3 separate regions of the Homo sapiens genome follow, and regions 1 and 2 are each linked to region 3. The links are contacts of gene promoters, found by promoter capture Hi-C in blood cells and fetal thymus (Javierre and others, 2016). All regions are on one chromosome and are shown on one strand. Each heading gives the region's core, a stretch centred on a gene start or on the middle of the fragment in contact. The rest is flanking DNA. Distances are from core to core; before and after follow the strand shown.

Region 1 (2,700 bases), core at 81-2,580, 240 kb before region 3:
GAAGAGTAGACAATATCTCTAGTCTATTATCTTTACCTACATCATTGGTTGGTTGGTAAACTTTTTCTGTAAAAGGCCAGATAGTGAATATTTTAGGCTTGTGGGCCATGCAGTCTTTTTCCAATCACTCTATATTGGCATTGTAGCACCAAAGCAGCCATTGACGGTAGGTAAATGAACAGGCGATACATAGAAAGGAAATACGGGAACTGCTGAGGTCCTGGGAATTGGGAACCTAAGCAGGGAGTTGATGTGAAAAGGGAAATATTTTACACAGAGGTGCTTGTACACTTTTCTTCATGACTTCTCACTCCACTATCACGGCTAATACTGCTTTGAAGTTAAATGTTCAGTTTGATTTTTACTTTTGAGTATTGTACATTTAAAATTCCCACAAAGTACATTTACTAACACAACCTCCAGGTGGAGCCCTTTCTTTTTTCTCAGTACACTGTTCCGCAAGTATTCACTGAATAGCTACCATGTGACAAAAACGAAGTGTTAGGATACAGCTTTGAATAAAGCAAAGATCTTATGCTCGAAAAGCTTATATTCCAATGGAGAAGACAGATGATAGCACGTATAAAAAAGGTAATTTCAGACAGTGATATGTTCTACAAGGAAATTACATAGAGCAATAGGAGAGGCTTCCCTGAGGACATGCTATTTCAGCAGAAAAGTGAAGAATAAGTAGGAGGCAGACATGCAAATACCTGAGGGTAGAGTTGTTTTATTTTCTTCTACTGTGGTAAAATATTCATAATATAAAAATGTACCATTCAAATTTTTTTTTTTTTTTTTTTTTTTGAGACCGAGTCTTGCTCTGTCACCCAGGCTGGAGTGCAATGGCGCGATCTCCGCTCACTGCAAGCTCCGCCTCCCAGGTTCACGCCATTCTCCTGTCTCAGCCTCCCCAGCAGCTGGGACTACAGGCGCACAGTGCCACGCCTGGCTATTTTTTTTTTTTTTTGTATTTTTAGTAGAGATGGGGTTTCACCATGTTAGCCAGGATGGTCTCGATCTCCTGACCTCGTGATCCACCCGCCTCGGCCTCCCAAAGTGCTGGGATTACAGGCTCAAATAGTTTTTAAGTGTACTGTTTTATGGCATTAAGTATATTCATTGCTGTGCAACCATCACTACCATCCATCTCTAGAACTTCTTTCATCTTCCAAACTGAAACTTCTTGCCCATTAAACAACTCTTCACTCCACCCTGTCCTCAGTGGCAACCATTCTACTTTCTGTCTCTATGAATTTGACTACCCTCACTACCTAATATAAGTGGAATCATGTAGTATTTGTCCTTATTTCTCTTAGCATAATGTCTTCAAGGTTCATTCATGCTGCAGTCAGAATTTTCATCCCTTTTGAGGCTGCATAATCCTCCATTCTCTGTGTATACCACATTTTGTTTATTCATTCAACAGTTGATGAACATTAGGGTTGCTTCCACTTTTGGCTGTTGTAAATAATGCTGCTGTGTATAAACATCTGTCTGAGCCTCTGCTTTCAGTTCTTTTGGGTATATATCTAGAAGTGGAATTGTGGGATTGTATGGTAATTCTATGGTTAGTTTTTTGAGGAAGCACCATACTGTTCTCCACAGTAGCTACACCATTTTACATTCCACCAACAGTGCACAAGAGTTCCAATCTCTCCACATTCTTGCCAACAATTGTTATTTTCAATTTGTGTGTGTATTTCTTTCTTTTTCTAAAATATCTAAAATGTGTTTATTGGGGTGGCTTCCCATTTATCTTGATTCAAAGTGCTTTTACTGCTGCTTCCTCCTGAAGGAGCATCCTTCTGTCAGCCTTGCTTTGCCTCCTGTAGACTGACAGAGAACGGTAGACCAGTGATATGGTTTGGCTATGTCCCTACCCAAATCTCATCTTGAATTGTAGTTTCCATAATCCCCATGTGTCATGGGAAGGACCTGGTGGGAGGTAATTGAATCATGCGGGTGGTTACCCTCATGCTGTTCTTGTGATGGTAAGTTCTCATGAGATCTGATGGTTTTATAAGGCACTTTCCCACCCCTCTTTGCTCAGCACTTCTCCTTCCTGATACCATGTGAAGAAGGACATGTTTGCTTCCCCTTCTGCCATGATTGTAAGCTTCCTGAGGCTTCTCCAGCCCTGTAGAACTGTGAGTCCATTAAACCTCTTCCGTTTATAAATTACCCAGTCTCTGGCTGGGTACAGTGGCTCAAGCCTGTAATCCAAGCACTTTGGGAGGCCAAGGTGGGCGGATCACTTGAGGTCAGGAGTTCAAGATCAGATTGGCCAACATGGTGAAACTCCATCTCTACTAATAATACAAAAATTAGACAGGTGTGTTAGTGTGGACCTGTAATCCCAGCTACTAGGGAGGCTGAGGTACAAGAATCGCTTGAACCTGGGAGGCAGAGGTTGTAGTGAGCTGAGATCATGCCACTGCACTCCGGCCTAGGCAAGAATGAAACTGTGTCTCAAAATAAATACATAAATAAAATAAAAATAAACTACTCAGTCTCGGGTATTTTTTCATAGCAGCATGAGAACGGACTAATACAGTAAATTGGTACCGCAGAGAGTGGGTTGCTGCTATAAGGATACCCAAAAATGTAGAAACGACTTTGGAACTGGGTAACAGGCAGAGACTGGAACAGTTTGGAGGGCTCAGAAGAAGACAGGAAAATGTGGGAAAGTTTGGAATT
Region 2 (2,700 bases), core at 132-2,631, 220 kb before region 3:
TCATATATCTCTGCTTCTCCAGGATTGTTCCCTGTTCCCTTATTTAGTTCATTTGGTGAGGTCATGTTTTCCTGGAAGGTCTTGATGCTTGTGGATGTTCATTGGCGTTTGGGCATTGAAGAGTCAGATATCTATGGTAGTCTCTGCACTCTTTCCAGGCATTTAAAAAGACTTGGGTGTTGAGATCTAAGACATATCTACATTAGGGGGCATCTCAAGCCCAGTAACACTATGGTTCTTCCAGACTCATAGAGGTACTGCCTTGATAATCTTGAATAATATTTGGAATAATTCTCTGGATTACCAGGCAGATTCTTGTTTCTTTCCTTACTTTCTTCCAAGCAAATGGAGTCTGTCTTTCTGTGATGAGCTGTCTGGAGCTGGGGGTGGGGTGACACAAGCACCCCTGTGGCCACCACCACTGGGACTGAGTTGGGACAGACCTGAAGCTGGCACAGCACTGAGTCTCACCCAAGGCCTGTTGTAACCAGTACCTGGCTACTGCCTATGTTCACTCGAGGCCCTAGGGCTCTGCAATCAGCAGGTGGTAAAGCCAGCGAGATTTGTGTCCTTCTCTTCAGGGCAGCAAGTTCCCCTAGACCCTATTCTTTTCCAGAGATGCCATCCATGAACTAGGGACTAGAGTCAAAAATCTTAGTAATCTACCTGGTGCTCTATTCTACCACAGCTGAGCTAGCACACAAGTTATGTGACACAGTTATTTCTACGCTTTCCTCACCTTTCTACAGGCAGAGGAAACTCACCCATGGCCATCACCTCCACAGGCCCAAGGGGAGTGCTGCCGGGCTACCACCGAGGTTCACTAAGGCCCAAGGGCTCTTCAGTCAGCTTATGCTGAAGGCTGCCAGGTCTGGGACTCACTCTTCAGGGAAATGGTCCACCTTCTGGCCCAGGGAAGGCTTAGAAATTCCATCTAAGAGCCAAGGCCTCTAATTAGGGGCCCCAAGAGCCCACTTGTTACTCTACCCCACTGTTGCTGAGCTGGTACCTAAGGTGCAAGATCAAGTCCTCTTTACTTTTCCCTCAGCTTTTTTCAAGCAAAAGGAGTCTCTCACCATAGCCACCATAGCTGGGACTGTGCTGGTTCACATCTAAAGCCAGCATATCTCTGAGTCTTACCCAAGGCCCATGGCAAGTACTGCCTGGGTGCTGCTGCTGATTATTCAGGGCCCAAGGTCTCTTTAATCAGCAGGTGATGATTCCTCCCAGGATAGGTCCTTCCTTTCAAGGCAGTGGATTCCCTTCTGGCCTAAGGTATGTCTAGAAATACTGTCTGGGAACTAGGGCCTGGAATGGGGGCCTAATGACCCTGACTAGTGCCCTATCCTACTGCGGCTGAGTTGGTATCCAAGTTGCAAGACAAATTCCTCTTTACTCTTTCCTCTCCTCTCCTCAAGCAGAAGTAAGGCTTCTCCTTTGCAGCTGAGGGCTGTGCTGCCTGGTGTTTTGGGAGGGGTAGTGCAAGCACTCCTGTAGTTGCCCTGGCTGGTGTCTCAGTAGGTCACATGTCCCTCATGTCCACTGGCTACACGCCCAACTCAGCACTAAGACTTGTGTAGGAGTTGCAGTCCTTATTGCCTAAACTGCCTTTCAAGTTTATTTAGGGCCCCAGAGCATTTTAGGTCATAATGATGAGACTTGCTGGAACTCAAGTTCTGACTGTTGGGATGGGCCATTCCCCTCTGGCTAGGGCTAGTCTCAGTGCTCCCTCAATGGGCAGGCATCATTTGAGTTCAGCCCAGTTTTGCTTTCTGTTGTGACAGGGCAGCTTTGAGTTCAATGCCTCTCACAATCACTGCACTGTCCCTCTCCCAAGTGCACAGATTCTCTCTCTGCACCTACGGCCATCGCCAGAGGATAGGGGTGGGGTGCCATCAGCAATTCAAGACTGTCTTTCTTGCCCTCTTCAGTGCCTCTGTCAGCAATATGAAGTTAAAACCAGGCACTGTGAGTGCTCACCTGATTTTTCATTCTTAGGAAGGTGCTTTATTTTATATTATTTCTTTCATGACTGCCTTGCCTGAAGAAAGATGCTTTTTATGTATAGATAGTTATTAAATTTGGTGTTCCTCTCTGGGGACAATCAGTGGAGCCTTCTATTCACCCATATTGCTCTGCCCTCTCTCTCTGATTTTTTTTTTTGTTTTTTAAAAAATGGGGTTTCACTCTGTTGTCCATGCTAAAGTGCTGTGGCATTATCACAGCTCACTGCAGCTTCAACCTCCGGAGCTCAAGCACACCTCAGCCTCCCAAGTAGCAGGGACCACAGGTTTGCACCACCATGCCTGGCTAGTTTTTTAAATGTTTGACATTTTTTATACAGATGGGGTCTCATGTTGGCCAGGCTGGTCCCAAACTCCTGGGCTAAAGCAATCTTTCCACCTCAGCTTCCCAAAGTGCTGATATTACAGGCATGAGCCAATGCACCTGGCCAGGGTTTTGTAAATATGAGGATCATTTTTTCATTTGGTAAGACTCCCTCTTTCCTCATGGTAGTATTTGCACTTTAAGTATCCCGGAAGAGAAAGTACAAAATGCCAATAACAACATAGATAACTCTTTAAAATAAACATATTTTAATCACACAACATAAATCTACATACATTTGAAATATGTGTGAGATTATTCTTTTTCCCCCCAGAAATGGGGTTTTGCTATGTTGCTCAGGCTGGTCTCAAA
Region 3 (2,744 bases), core at 47-2,546:
AATGAAGAGGCAAGCCACAGACAGGTAGAAAACATTTCAAAACGTATAGCTAATAAAGAACATGGTATGAAACATATAAAGAACTCAATAATATATAAAGAACTCTTAGATAAAAAGTCAAGCTAGCTAATAAATAAATGGTCAAAAGATTTGAATACACACTTCACAAAGAAGAGATCCTCCTGCCTTGGGCTAAAAAAGGGCTGGGGTTACAGGCAGGAGCCCAGGCCCAGCCTTGTCAGTTGATTTTCGGTGACCCTTCAGAGGGCAAAGGGGAAGTTTTCTCCTGTTCCCTACAACCGACAGGCCCATCAATTGGTGAATGGATAAATAAACTGTGGCTTACCCATATGATAGACTACCATTCAACAATAACACAAATGAATTACTAATTAAACACAATAGTATGAATCTCAAAGCATTGTGCTAAGTTAAAAAAGCCAGACATCACTTAGATATGGTTCCGTTTGTATGCATTCTAAAAAAGGCCTAAAGCACATCACTGTTGCCAGGCACCCGGGAATACGGGAATACGTAGCGGAGCGGGCACGAGGGGGGTGGGGGTGGGGGTAGGGGTGGGGGGGAGGGTAGCTGCCTGCATAGCTCTGCCCAGTTTTATGCCGGTTTCAGCCCGGCGCACAACGCATTTTTTTTTTTGATACATAGTCTCGCTCTGTCGCCCAGGCTGGAGTGCAGTGGCGCAATCTCGGCTCACTGCAAACTCCGCCTCCCGGGTTCCCGCCATTCTCCCACCTCAGCCTCCCGAGTAGCTGGGACTACAGGCGCCCGCCACCACGCCCAGCTAATTTTGTTTTTGTATTTTTAGTAGAGACGGGGTTTCACCGTGTTAGCCAGAATGGTCTCGATCTCCTGACGTCGTGATCCGCCCGCCTCGGCCCCCCAAAGTGCTGGGATTACAGGCGTGAATCACCGCGCCCGGCCGCGGCGCACAACGCTTAACAAACTTTGGCTTCCGTTATCCCTCCCTCTGGAAATGCGTGTGTCAGGGTGCCTCCTAGTGGAACTGCAGCGTTTCCTCGAAAGCCATTCCGTCCAGGAGTTAAGGTGGCCGCTGCCCGCCCGGGGACACTTTCTCAGTCCAGCCCATCGGCCTTTACCCCAGCCAACGACCTGTTGCCTTTGGCCGCCTGCCAAGTCACTCTCATTACAGTTTCCTTTTCCTTTTCGATTCCGCCCCCTAAAAACAACAACAAACATTATGTTTCGTTTTCCACTGGAGCTGCAGGCCCCGCCCCCAAACAGCACGTGGGGGGCGTGGCGTCCCGGCAGGGGCTCAGTAGCTGAGGCTGCGGTTCCCCGACGCCACGCAGCTGCGCGCAGCTGGTTCCCGCTCTGCAGCGCAACGCCTGAGGCAGTGGGCGCGCTCAGTCCCGGGACCAGGCGTTCTCTCCTCTCGCCTCTGGGCCTGGGACCCCGCAAAGCGGCGATGGAGCGGAGGTCGCGGAGGAAGTCGCGGCGCAACGGGCGCTCGACCGCGGGCAAGGCCGCCGCGACCCAGCCCGCGAAGTCTCCGGGCGCACAGCTCTGGCTCTTTCCCAGCGCCGCGGGCCTCCACCGCGCGCTGCTCCGGAGGGTGGAGGTGACGCGCCAACTCTGCTGCTCGCCGGGGCGCCTCGCGGTCTTGGAACGCGGCGGGGCGGGCGTCCAGGTTCACCAGCTGCTCGCCGGGAGCGGCGGCGCCCGGACGCCGAGTGAGTGGGGCTGGTGTGTGAGGGCTGTGAGGGCTGTGAGGGGTGAGGGCTGAGGGCTGTGAGGGGCGGGCAGCCGGGGGTCCGCGCCTGAGGGAGGAGAGCCCAGAAGGCCGCAGACGCGCGCCTGGCTCGGATAGTTTCGCCGACGGCGCACCTGAGCTGTCTTTTATCCCGGTCAGTGTCAGGCGCGGGGTGAGCGGGATACTGGCGACCAGCGGATCCTCCGCTCAGCAAAGTGGCCGGTGCGGGGCATGCGGGCACCGTCTTCATCCTTTTAGCCAGTCTGGCTTTCTCATAGGTTTCTGTTCAAGTTTGTACCCCCGTCCCCCGCCCGCCGCATCTCCCACTGTCTCGTTTTGAGAAAGTAGTCACTGCTCCAACTTTGGGAGTCGTTCTCAGTGATGGGATTTTACCTTGGCCTTCAGTTGCACTTCTCCCACATTCTCATCGAAGTGGGGGAAATAGTTGCCCGCGTTCTTTAAAATTTTGCCCATCTGTGGAGTGAAGAAATTGGTATCTTGCTGCGAGTTTATTTTGCGTTTAACTACTGGACGTTTGCGTTCCTTTTTCGGTAAATTGCCTGTTTATCTTTGCCTGGCTTTTAGAAATTTGAGTTGTTAAATCTTTTTCTTATTTGTATGGAAGAGGTATTTGAATATTGAATAAGAATAGCCTTTTGCACGTCGTACATGTAATATTTTTCTCACTTTGCCTTTTGTGCATGTTGTTTTTAGTGCATTTTTTGGGGGGTAGTCTGTCAATTTTTTTGTCTGTTAAGGCTTATGGGTTTTATGTTAGGCTGGAAAGCTATCCACACTCCCAGTGTTTTAAAAAATGTACTCATTTTTGTAGTAATTTTAAGGTTTTTTTTTTTAAGTTAAAATTTTTCGTACGCTTGGAATTTTCAGTACTGAGGTAGGAGGGGAGCTAGATTTATTTGCTTTTCCAAAGGCTTAGCCTATGTCCCAATACCATTTCTTAATACTTCCTTTTTTTCAACTGATTTGAAATGCTGAGACTCTTTAAAAGAAA

The links. The method cuts DNA at HindIII sites, captures the fragments that hold promoters and counts their contacts. A CHiCAGO score of 5 or more calls a contact.
Region 1: a contact is called between a fragment that was not itself captured here and the fragment with the promoter of HERC5 in region 3, in 16 of 17 cell types (megakaryocytes, naive CD4 T cells, M2 macrophages and 13 more). The highest score is 12.8, in megakaryocytes.
Region 2: a fragment that was not itself captured here is called in contact with the fragment with the promoter of HERC5 in region 3 in 2 of 17 cell types (total CD8 T cells and total B cells); the score reaches 6.4 in total CD8 T cells.

The regions. Positions count from the first base shown.
Region 1 is chr4:88,218,793-88,221,492 of GRCh38, forward strand. It overlaps a transcript of ABCG2 not described here. Among named protein-coding and RNA genes, the nearest start is that of ABCG2, 62 kb to the left of the region's middle. The HindIII fragment of the contact is 1,573 bases long and covers 545-2,117 here.
Region 2 is chr4:88,238,888-88,241,587 of GRCh38, forward strand. No RefSeq gene overlaps it. Among named protein-coding and RNA genes, the nearest start is that of PPM1K, 44 kb to the right of the region's middle. The HindIII fragment of the contact is 4,762 bases long and covers 1-2,700 here.
Region 3 is chr4:88,455,823-88,458,566 of GRCh38, forward strand. It overlaps HERC5 (HECT and RLD domain containing E3 ubiquitin protein ligase 5), which reads left to right and starts at 1,297. Exons shown (of 23, transcript NM_016323.4): 1 at 1,297-1,712. The coding sequence starts at 1,448. All of the region lies in intron 1 of LOC102723458 (a long non-coding RNA gene), which reads right to left. RefSeq lists an enhancer at 927-1,356. The HindIII fragment of the contact is 3,677 bases long and covers 1-2,744 here.